Regions from separate parts of the Homo sapiens genome. Here all the other regions are linked to region 3. The links are contacts of gene promoters, found by promoter capture Hi-C in human tissues and cell types (Jung and others, 2019). All regions are on one chromosome and are shown on one strand. The core of a region is centred on a gene start or on the middle of the fragment in contact, and the rest is flanking DNA. Distances in the headings are between cores, read along the strand shown.

Region 1 (3,711 bases), core at 1,017-3,516, 64 kb after region 3:
ATGCAGTATTGCCACAAATCTTCAATTTCTTAAAAAAAAAAAAAAAACTGGCTGAGTACTGTAGCTCAAAACTGTAACATCAGCACTTTGGGAGGCTGAGGCGGGAGGATCACTTGAGCTCAGGAATTCTATACCAGCCTGAGCAACATAGTGAGATCTTGTCTCTACAAAAAATGAAGAAGGTTAGCCAGACCTCATGTTGCGTGTCTGTAGTCCCAGCTACTCGGGAGGATTGCTTGAGGCCTGGAGGTTGAGGTTGCAGTGAGCCAAGATTACACCACTGCACTCCAGCCTGGGCGACAGAGCAAGACTCTGTCTCAAAAAAGAAAATGTGGGTTTTTCTTTTATTTTCTTTTTTATCTATGAAGTGCAATAAAATGAGGTATGGCTATAGTTTGTGATTATATTTTTTATTATTTTTATTTTTGAGACAGTCTGGCTGTGTCGCCCAGGCTGGAACGCAGTGACAGATCTTGGCTCACTGCAACCTCTGCCTCCCTGGTTCAAGTGAGGAGCTGGGATTACCGGCCTGTACCACCACGCCTGGCTAATTTTTGTGTTTTTAGTAGAGATGGGGTTTCACCATGTTGCCCAGGCTGGTCTTCTCAAACTCATGGTGTCAAGTGATCTATCCGCTTCCACCTCCCAAAATGCTGGGATTACAGGCTTGAGCCACTGCACCCAGCCTCATCCATTTATTTTTAAGATCAGTTTGTGTGATTGTTGTAACCATCTAATAAATCATTTCCAGATGAGGAGGATATGTATACTGAAAGTATATTTCCCCATTGAATGTCTGGTATTAAATTGCAGATGTCAGATGTTCAGTTAACTGTGAATCAGAGTTCCTAACTTATGACTTTAAAGAGACTCACAACTTGTCCTGAGAGTCTTGGTTCTGGAAAGAGCTCCAGATACAAATCCTTGAGTTAATTCTGGATTGTCCTATAAAGAGAATCTACCCTGGTGAGTGTCTAGAGTTGGCCATAACAAGAACAGCATGGAAGATGTAGCACCTCATCACTGTTGTAGGGCATTTAGGGGGCAACCACTCATTTTTATTGCTTTTTTGAACATTCTGTTACTTTCACTTTGCTGCTTTTCTTGAATATATGACATTTTGGTCATGTATGTTATTAGAGGATTCCACAAGGTAAACTGATTTGCTGGGGATAGCGATAAACAGGATCAGGAATAGTTGGTTTCTACATAAGAAAGTTTTGATTCTTCAATTACTATATTTCATCACATTTAAGATGCCATTAATTGTAAGGTGTACATTTATTTTACATACAACTAACAAAGGAAGAAACCCACGGACAATTTAGAGATGAATTATAGATTCAGAGAAAGATGTGATGAAAATTTTATATATGTATATATATATATTTTTTTGAGGTGGAGTCTCACTCTGTTGCCCAGGCTGGAGTTCAGTGCCACGATTTTGGCTCACTGCAACTTCTGCCTCCCGGGTTCAAGTGATTTTCCTGCCTCAGCCTCCTGAGTAGTTGGGATTACAGGTACCCGTCACCACACCTGGCTAATTTTGGTATCTTCAGTAGAGACGGGGTTTCACCATGTTGGCCAGGCTAGTCTCAACTCCTGACCTCAGGCAGTCCACCTGCCTCAGCCTCCCAAGAGTGTTGGGATTACAGGCATGAGCCACTGCGCCTGGCCAAAAATTACATTTTAGAGTGCACCACAGTAGCTCCGCATACCCAGTATGGTCGCCTACAAGTGTATGGGTGATGATTGCATTCTCTTACCTTCTGACCGTTGGGCTCTTTAAATACCACTGTTCTCCACAGTTGGCATCACTGATCGATATCTATATTCTTTCCCTTGAGAGCCAGATTTGGCCCAAGTCTCCACCATGCTGACTGACTGCCACTCAGTAGTCAGCTGGAAAGTGCACTGATTTGCCAGTCCAAATGTAGACCCTCAACTTTTAAATGTTTAATTAGATCTGTTAACATCCCAAAGATGGTTAAATTTTCTCTCAAGCACCATGCTTGTTGGGTGATTTCTCTTTTCTTACTGTGAAATGTATATATCTGTTTTGGAAGTTTACCCAGCCTTTCTACATTGTCATTTCCCCCAACCTATCTGCCCTGTATGTCCTTCAGATGCCCTGCTGTTAGAGGTTGGGAACTAGTTCAATAAGTCCTGGTCTGCACATCTTGGAATGCCATGCTTGGCTGGGTCGTGCGTAATTTGGAAGGGAAAGACCTATTTTTCCACTATGCATTGGGTAGGGCTTTTGTGACTCTCAGCCCAAGGAATATCTTTGCATGCTTGCTGATTATTAAAATTGCAACAAAAGCTTTGAATCCCCCTTTGAACCTGTTTGAAAAATGGAAGAAGCAATTTTTGTCATAAAATGTGAGTTCCAGACATGAGGGATAAGCGATAAGCCTGGCTAGGAGACTAGGGGAAGAGGTGAGTAGGGTAGTACACCCATTCCTATGCAAAGGGAGTGGTGTTTTTGTTTTTTTATTTTTTGAGACAGAGTTTTGCTCTTGTAGCCCAGGCTGGGTCTTTTTTTTTCTTCTAACATATGATAGAAGTTAGATGTAAAAAAATCAATTTGGCAAGTAGTATGACATTAATATTAATAGAAAGCAGTTTGCCACCTCTGCTTTCTATTGAGGAAGGATTAAGAAATGTTACAGACATAGGTTTGGTTGCCTTGGTGAAATATTAGCTTGGACACCAGTTGTGCTAATTAATAACCAACACATCTAAAAATATAGAGGGTGCCGGTTACTAAGTTCTACTCTTTGGGCTCTAACCCTGTCACACTCTTGCCATGTGACACTGGGGCTGTGACTCTTCAAACTACATGTATGGGAAAAGGACTTCTTCCCTTTTTCTTCCAATTCATATTACTTATATTATTATCATATTATATATTTGTTTTGAGACAGAGTCTTGCTCTGTCACCCAGGCTGGGGGGCGCGGTGGTGCAGTCACAGCTTGCTGCAGCTTCGATCTCCCAAGACTCAAGCAATCCTTCCAGCTCAGCCTCCCAAGTAGATGGGACTATACACAAGCGCCACCATGCCTGGCTAATTTATTTTTTTGTAGAGACGGGGTCTCACTCTTGGCCAGGCTGATCTCAAACTCGTGGGCTTAAGCTATCCTCCTGCCTCTGCCTCCCAGAGTGCTGGGATTACAGGTGTGAGCCACCGTACCCGGCCCCAATTTTTAATAGCAATTCTTTTTCACCCTGACAGCAGAAGTTGGTTTCAATTTCAGATCTTGCCACTCTCAGAATTAGCTGGATGTAACCTCACCATCTTATTCTGGGTTCTTGTAACCACAGCTTTCTTTCCTTTGTTCTCTCAGACAAAGCAGAAGAAGCTGCTTCTGCAGGTACTCTCTGCCTCAGTGTGCTCTTTGCCCCAGCAGTTCTCCCATACCTGTTTAACCATTTCCCTATGCTAAATTCTGTTTAAATGTCTAGGGAGCTCTCTTGCTCTCTCTCGCTTTCTCTCTTTTTCCCTGGATGAATCCTGACAGCGTGAGATACTAAAAATGTATCAATGCTATTATGATACCTGCTTATATGCATGCTCATTTGCTTGGCCATTCTGATTTTTTAACTTTTAGGTAATGTGGATGTAATATCTGTCTGCTTCACTTTATTGGCTTCTGTATTAGTTTATCGGGTCTGTTGTAACAATTTACCATAAACTGGATTACTTAAAA
Region 2 (4,236 bases), core at 379-2,878, 44 kb after region 3:
AGCTCCTAAAGCAGGCTGCCTGGCCTGGCCTGGGCTCTGCGTGGCTGGCCTGTTGCCCCTTTGACATTTGTAGAGGTGTCTGCAGGGTAGGTTTCCCACTTTTGGAGTAGAGGCTACAAACACTAACTTGAAAAGGGTTTTTAAAAATAAATCGTGGGGCTGGGCGCGGTGGCTCATGCCTGTAATCCCAGCACTTTGGGAGGCCGAGGCAGGCAGATCGCTTGAGTGCAGGAGTTTGAGACCAGCCTGGCCAACATGCTGAAACCCCATCTCTACTGAAAATTCAAAAATTAGCCAGGTGTTGTGGCACGTGCCTGTAGTCCCAGCTACTCTGGAGGCTGAGGCAGGAGAATCGCTTGATCCCGGGAGGCAGAGGTTGCAGTGAGTTGAGATCGTGTCATTGTACTCCAGCCAGAGCAAGACTGTCTCAATAAAATAAAGTAAATAATCTTTTTTTTTTTCTTGAGATGGAGTCTCTGTTGCCCAGGCCAGAGTGCAGTGGCACGATCTCGGCTCACTGCAACCTCCGCCTCCAGGTTCAAGCAATTCTCCTGCCTCAGCCTCCTGAGTAGCTGGGATTACAGGCATGCTTCACAATGTTGGCCAGGCTGGTCTCGAACTCCTGGCCTCAGGTGATCCACCTACCTTGGCCTCCCAAAGTGCTGGGATTACAGGCATGAGCCACCGTGCCCAGCCAATAAATAAATAAATTGTTGGCCAGGCGCGGTGGCTCACGCCTGTAATCCAAACACCTCGGCAGGCCAAGGTGGGAGGAACACTCCGGAGTTCAAGACCAGCCTGGGCAACAAAGTGAGTTCCTGTCTCTACAAAAAAATAAAAATCATTTTCTTTATAAGACTAAGCATCCCTCTTTCACCTGCTTTTGCACTGAAGATGTTTGCTCTGCTCTCGCTCATTTTGCCTTTTACTTACAGAGAAAGATGTCAAGAAAGGCTCTTGTAATTGCTGGAATGTCGGGGGGAAGATGAGGTACTGGGAGAGTGTGTCTGGCTTCTCTCTTTAATACTCTCCTTGACAGGTGCAGTTTTGGGGAATGCCATAGAAGAGCCCAGACTTGGGACTTGGAGACAAATCTCCGTAATTCACAGACATGCCCCAGCACCCACTCTTCCACACCCCCACACCCCACCTGAGCCTCGGCAATCCCAGTGCAGCACGGGTACTTCTTGGCATTCAGAGAATTCACAGAGGCCACGTGTGTGCTATCCACTGCTTCCCAGGATTGGTCACTTCCCAATTTAAAATAATTACTGCCTGTGAACAACTCTGTATTAAAACAAAATTTCTATAGTAATATCTTAACTGCTTGATTTTTGGGGGAGGAGGGGAGCAGGTGGGAGGCATTGCCTAGAAAGGTAACTGGCTCTAGGCCTTATCAACCAATAGGACAGTGTAACCTTGATTCACTAACCCTAATCAAGACAGAAGGCAACTAAGTAATGCAGGGGACAAGGACACAAGATGATGGAACTTGCAGAGAGGAGGGAAGTGCTCGGTTGTGTTAAAGGTAGAAAATGTGACTAGTAATATTTACTAACAGTTTTTATTACTAGTGTATTCTCATCTGAGTCTGTATTTCTGCTTCTCTTCTCAGGACAGTTTTACCCAGGTGATGAGTGCCTTCCCTTGCTTTAAAAAATTCTGCCTTTCTACACCATCTCAGCCACATGGGTGATTGAAACCTACTTGGCTTCTTTAGGAACTGAAAGGGTTTCAGGTGTACACTGTTGCCCGCTGTTTAAGAGGCGAGGACTGAGTTACATGGCCACCTACAGAGTCTGACCATTTTTTAAATGTCAGCCCCAAAGTACCACTGACTCTTGTCCATAGCACAACAGATTAAAACCTTGCCTTGCTTTTGCAACCTTGGAGGCAGCTGGAAAACTTGTGTGTCTACGTCCAAATCTGTCTTTCGTGTCCAGTTTAAAAATATATAATTTACATGGGCAGTGATCTCAGTGTTGGAACAAATCTCTTTTATTTGCTGCTGGAAGCTGCATGGGCCACTCATTAATACATCAGAGGTCAGATGCATGCCGGGGCGGCAGCTGGGACACTAATGATTTCATATGGCTTTGTATGACCGCTGGCCGCCTGTGGTGCTGTAAATCGGGACTCAGGGTTCTAATTTTTTCAAAACCTCCAGGGAGGTTGCCTCTTGCGAGATATAACTTAAGATAATATTTATAGTAGAGGGCAGAGGAAAAATAATACCTAATGGGAACATTGTGGAAAAAATGGTAGCAACCTATTAGAAGTAAATTATGTGGGGCCATTGGAGTTAACTCATTTATGGGCTCCATGAGTATTTTATTAGGTCCTTAGCTATGAAGAGTGCTGCGCTGTGGCCAAGCTCCAAGCATCACCCCCTCAACAACTTAGGTTGTCAGTGGAAGGATTCTCCCCTCACTTTTGGGAGGGAGGAGTATTAATTGAACCTTTTTTTTTTTTTTTTTTTTTTTTTTGGAGCTGGTCTTGCTGTGTCTGGCTTGAGCCAGGCTGACTGCGGTGGTGCATACATGGCTCACAGCAGCCTCGAACTCTTGGGCTCATCAAGCCATCCTTCTGCCTCAGCTGTGACTATAGGCATGCCCCACCATGCTTGGTTAATTTTTAATTCTTTTGTAGAGACAGGGTCTTTGTTGGCCGGGCTAAGTGTACATTTTGACTTTTGATGATTTATATATACCTGTGTAATCAATCCTCGCATCAAGATATAGATTTTCTCTAATTCCAGAAGGATTCCCTTGGGGTCCCTCTAGTTCACCCTCGTTCTCACCTGCAACTACTGTTGTTTTCTTCCACGTTGAGTTTTATCTTCATATATTAATAAATGGAGTTATGCAATATATTCTCTTGATTTTAGCTTTTTCACCAGTCTTAGTGCCTTTAAGCTTCTTGTATGTAGGTATATTTATTTATTTGTTTTTGTTTTTGTTTTTTTGAGACGGAGTCTCCTCTGTCACCCAGGCTGGAGTGCAGTGGTGAGATCTTGGCTCACTGCAGCCTCTGCCTCCCGGGTTCAAGCAATTCTCCTGCCTCAGCTTCTTGAGTAGCTGGAACCACAGGTGCCCACCACCAGGCCTGGCTAACTTTTGTATTTTTAGTAGAGATGGGGTTTCACTATGTTGGCCAGGCTGGTCTCAAACTCCTGACTAAAAATGGTCCACCCGCCTCGGCCTCTCAAAAGTGCTGGGATTACAGGCATGAGCCACCACGCCTGAACTTCTTGTGTGTAGTTACTGACAAACATCCTGTTGTGTGTATGTACCACGGTGTATGTTGATGTGGAAGTTTTGTTTTTACTTTTAAACATCCAAGACTGATTGATTGAGGCAGGGTTTCTGTTGCCCAAGCTGGAGTGCAGTGGAATGATCATAACTTGCTGTAACTTTGATGTAACTTTGAACTCCTTGGGCTCAAGCAATCCTCCCACCTCAGCCTTCTGAGTAGCTATCAAGTTTTTATTTGTTCAAAACTATATTTGGGAGGCAGTAATCCAAAACACAACTCTGGCATTTTCTAAGCTGTCACTGAGTATTGTGTAGTGTAACTTGGATCTGTTAGAGGACACCCCAAGCACAGGTGTGGCACTCTTAGGAAGATGCCCTTTTATTGCAGAGCCTTCAGGAAATGTGTGAGAAACTGAAGGTGGTGGGCTGGTGGGCCATGAGTTTGCCTCAAGCTGTGTGGGGTGGGTGAAGATAACAAGGTGCCAGCCCAAAAAGCAGATTCTGATCTGGGAGTCAAGTAAGTCCAAAGGGCCTAGGGAGCTGGTGCCCGCTGGGTTCGCCAGAGGCAGAGTGTGGAGGACGTGTTGTTTATTCGAGATCCCCTGCTTTGAAAGGCAGGATGCAGGATGTCAACAGGGTCCTGACACCCCAGTGCCCCCAGGGGCAGAGCATGAGTGTCTGCCGTCTGCCCTCAGGGCTCAGGCTCAGGTCCGGTGTAGAGTGGATAGTCTGGGTAAAGGAAATGTCAGGCATAGCTACATTCCCCAGTATGCATCCCTCTTCCCCCACTTGGCATGTGTGTTGTCCCCCAGTTGGTATTTTGCAACATCATGATTATACTTTTAAAAATTAAGTGGTGTGTGTGTGTGTGTGTGTGTGTGTGTGTGTGTGTGTGTGTGTGTGTTCACAAAGGTCTGGAGAAGTGCTAATTTTAGCTCAACATGGGGGGTGCCTGTCATTTTCCCTGCCGGAATCCCCTCCT
Region 3 (3,809 bases), core at 246-2,745:
AGGGCTAATGTTTCCTGTTTGCCTGGAGCCCCCTCCCCTGCCTCCCCTCCCCCAGCCCCCTCCCAGCACTCGGGCGGAAGTGAGTTTGCTCCTTTGGAGATTAAAAGGATTCCGAATTCCGATCAGTCCCAATAACCGGCGTACTGAAGAGAAGAGGAGGAGGAGGAGGAGGCAGAGGCGGCAAAGCAGAGAAAGAGGGGGCGCGCGCGCGCGCACGCAACCCGAACTGGGGGAGTTGTGCAAAGCCCCAGGAGGCCGGGGCACGGCGGGAGCAAAGCTCGGTAGGCGCAGCGCGGCCGAGGCCACCCGCGTCCGGATCGGCGACTCCTTTCAGAAAGAAGATGACGCGGGCGCGAGCCGGCGGCGTTGGCCACGCGGCTCCCGAGCTCGCCGCGCGGGGCTGTTGCCGGTTCCACTGATTCCAGCGCGCCCGAGAGGAGCCTCCATCCCCGAGGCTCGGGATCGGAGGGGGGACCAAGGCGAGGGCGAAATGGCCCGATGACAAAGGAAATGTGATCCCCCTTCTCTGCCAAGGTTTCAGAGAGGACGGACGTGAGGAGGAGGAGGGGCGCAGGGCGCGCGCGGAGCTCGGATAGCATTGCACGACGGCCCGCGCGGAGCGGGTACATCTAATATCTTCCTGCCGATGAATAATTCAGGGCGGCCCGCGGGGACCTGCGGCCCCGCGCGCTAAGCCGAAGGGGAAGGAGCGTGCGTGAGGCGCCCAGGCCAGGCGAGGCGGGGGCACGAGGGCTCCGGGCCGCGTGGGGCGCGCGTGCGTGTTAAGCGCGGGCAGCCGCGGCCCGGCTGGGCAGGCGCGCGGAAGACTCGAGGCGCGTGGGACGCGCGTGCGTACTGCACGCGTGCGGCCGCGGCTGGGCCACCACGAGCTGCAGCTGCTGCGGGGCCCACCGCCCTGCAGGGGAGGCCGTGCCTGGCTGTGCGCAAGCCCCAAGCGCAGCACGCCGGGCCACCCAGGAGCCCCTGGCCGCCGCGTCATGCGGCGGGGCAGCCGACGTCGCGCGGGGAGACACCGGCTTGGCGACGCACCGCTCCCGCCTTTACTAGTTTGGGGCTCCTTCCCCTCCCAAGAACAGACTAAATCCGTTTAAAGAAAAGCAACGCACCAAATACTCGTGGAACCAAATTCTGCTCTCGCCGGGACTGGGACTGCACAGCGAACTCTCCTTTTGGGAACTCCTTTCGTCTATCGCGAAGGGAAGCCTCAGCTGCTCCAGGGAGTCTTCCGACCTCCCTGCCCCCGCTCGCCCCTCGCCTGTCGGGGCTTGTTCCGGCGTTCCCTCTTCGGAAGGCACGCGGCCCCCAAGTTATCCGGAGGAATCTGTGTCGCCGCTGGATAGTGGCATTTAATGCCTGCAGTGTCGGGGGTGGCAGCGCTCGGGCCGGACGTGGCGAGGCCAAGCGGGCAGCGCTGCTCTGGTGCCGGCTCCCGGATTGCAGGCCTAATCGATGCATTTTTCTGAGTGAGTCGGTGACTCCCCCACCCACCTCGTCCGCTCTCTCCTCCTCCTCCTCCTCTTCCTCTCTGGTCTCCTCCCTCCTCCGGGCTGGGTTGCAAATGGCTTCGTTCCCCGAGACCGATTTCCAGATCTGCTTGCTGTGCAAGGAGATGTGCGGCTCGCCGGCGCCGCTCTCCTCCAACTCGTCCGCGTCGTCGTCCTCCTCGCAGACGTCCACGTCGTCGGGGGGCGGCGGCGGGGGCCCTGGGGCGGCGGCGCGCCGCCTACACGTCCTGCCCTGCCTGCACGCCTTCTGCCGCCCCTGCCTCGAGGCGCACCGGCTGCCGGCGGCGGGCGGCGGCGCGGCGGGAGAGCCGCTCAAGCTGCGCTGCCCCGTGTGCGACCAGAAAGTAGTGCTAGCCGAGGCGGCGGGTATGGACGCGCTGCCTTCGTCCGCCTTCCTGCTTAGCAACCTGCTCGACGCGGTGGTGGCCACTGCCGACGAGCCGCCGCCCAAGAACGGGCGCGCCGGCGCTCCGGCGGGAGCGGGCGGCCACAGCAACCACCGGCACCACGCTCACCACGCGCACCCGCGCGCGTCCGCCTCCGCGCCGCCACTCCCGCAGGCGCCGCAGCCGCCCGCGCCTTCCCGCTCGGCACCCGGCGGCCCTGCCGCTTCCCCGTCGGCGCTGCTGCTCCGCCGTCCTCACGGCTGCAGCTCGTGCGATGAGGGCAACGCAGCTTCTTCGCGCTGCCTCGACTGCCAGGAGCACCTGTGCGACAACTGCGTCCGAGCGCACCAGCGCGTGCGCCTCACCAAGGACCACTACATCGAGCGCGGCCCGCCGGGTCCCGGTGCCGCAGCAGCGGCGCAGCAGCTCGGGCTCGGGCCGCCCTTTCCCGGCCCGCCCTTCTCCATCCTCTCAGTGTTTCCCGAGCGCCTCGGCTTCTGCCAGCACCACGACGACGAGGTGAGTGCGTGGGGGCGTGTGTTTGTGTCCATCGGATAACTGCGTGTGTGCTCAACAGCGTTTCCCGGCCGGTCCCACAGCGAGGGGAGGAGGCCCTCTCCGGATTTGGTTTGTATTTCCTTTGGCTACGTGGCAGTCCTTGCTACCAAAGTAGATCATGACCTGGGAAGTATGTGGAAGTGGATTCTGTGTACGTGTCGCGAGGGGCTCCGAAAAATCCCATAGCGTGGGGTCCTCCCTTTTCTGATTTTAATTTCTGTGTGGCAAAACGCGGCAATCGTCTTGAGTTAGGCGTGAGTTGGGAGGAGATAGGTGTGTGTGTTTGTGTAGACGTGGCCTGCTCCTGCTCTTGTGGGCACACCAGAGGCCTCCCAACGTGCTGAGAAGGCGCTCCTTTATTTTCAGATTTTTGTTTGGAAAACTCATAGATTGTTGCCTTTAAAATGGGGCGTGAGCCCGGAAGAGATGGTTGTGTGGGTGAGTGCGTGGAGTTTGTGTGCCTCCGTAGACCTGGTTTCCACGTGCGCACTTGTGAGGGGAAGACTGGTTTTTTTGTTGTTGGGACAGCATGGCAGTCCTTGCCTCCTTATGTTGGGTAAGAGTGGGAGCGTCTGTGGATCTTTGAGGGCCAAGGGCCCCCAGTCTTAAGCCCTTCTCTCTCTGCGGCTGCTTCCTATATTGTTTAAAATGCGTGTTCTGGCCCCTGAATTCTCCTAGCGTGAAATCGCCGTTCGTGGGCCCACGGCTGCACCCCGAGATAGAAGCGGAATAAAGGGACGACGTTACCTTCACCAGCCTGAGTCTCTTGGGCCGCGCCCGCCTGCCCCGACTCCAAGCCCTACAGGAACCGGTTTCCCTGGTTAGGAGGTATCCACCCGGCTCAACCAGGGTCTCGACTTCCTTGGAAAAGACCAAGGCAGCCGTACGCTGCTGGAACGCCGGAGTGCAAAGGCTTTTAGGGCTACATTGCAACCCTCGGGCTCGATTTCGCCCTTTGGGCTGTCGAGTAAACATTTGCTTTTCACACAGTGTGACCCCTTTCTCCTTTCCACTTTGGTATTATGCGAGTGTCGTCTTCTCCCCCGAACCCAATGAAGGCAGGCCAAAAGTCTTGAGAAGCGGGCTCTTGCCGAGGGGGTCGGTAACTTAGGCGATCTACCTGTAGACCGGTAAGAGAGGGTGTGGGTGAAAGTCTTGACTTAGAGCGTAAGCTGGAGACTGCAGAGGCTTTAAAAGCCATAGTGGGGGTCGTGGCCTGTGTGAGCTGGAGAGTGGGTACCGAGCACCGCAAAGGTGAGCCCAGCGCCGCTGCCTTTTCCACTCCTAACCTGTTATTTGGGGAGGAGGGCGGAGCTATTGCCTGATGGCCTTTAGCTGG

The links. The method cuts DNA at HindIII sites, captures the fragments that hold promoters and counts their contacts. A contact is called where the count stands out against the background at its distance.
Region 1: a fragment that was not itself captured here is called in contact with the fragment with the promoter of TRIM71 in region 3 in 1 of the 25 tissues and cell types used here (bladder).
Region 2: a fragment that was not itself captured here is called in contact with the fragment with the promoter of TRIM71 in region 3 in 1 of the 25 tissues and cell types used here (ovary).

Annotation. Positions count from the first base shown.
Region 1 is chr3:32,879,642-32,883,352 of GRCh38, forward strand. All of the region lies in intron 2 of TRIM71 (tripartite motif containing 71), which reads left to right. Among named protein-coding and RNA genes, the nearest start is that of TRIM71, 64 kb to the left of the region's middle. The HindIII fragment of the contact is 5,549 bases long and covers 1-3,711 here.
Region 2 is chr3:32,860,736-32,864,971 of GRCh38, forward strand. The region is part of intron 1 of TRIM71 (tripartite motif containing 71); the gene reads left to right. Among named protein-coding and RNA genes, the nearest start is that of TRIM71, 45 kb to the left of the region's middle. RefSeq lists enhancers at 80-684, 3,329-4,093. The HindIII fragment of the contact is 7,233 bases long and covers 1-4,236 here.
Region 3 is chr3:32,816,502-32,820,310 of GRCh38, forward strand. TRIM71 (tripartite motif containing 71) reads left to right here and starts at 1,496. Exons shown (of 4, transcript NM_001039111.3): 1 at 1,496-2,431. The coding sequence starts at 1,580. RefSeq lists an enhancer at 1,956-2,537. The HindIII fragment of the contact is 18,479 bases long and covers 1-3,809 here.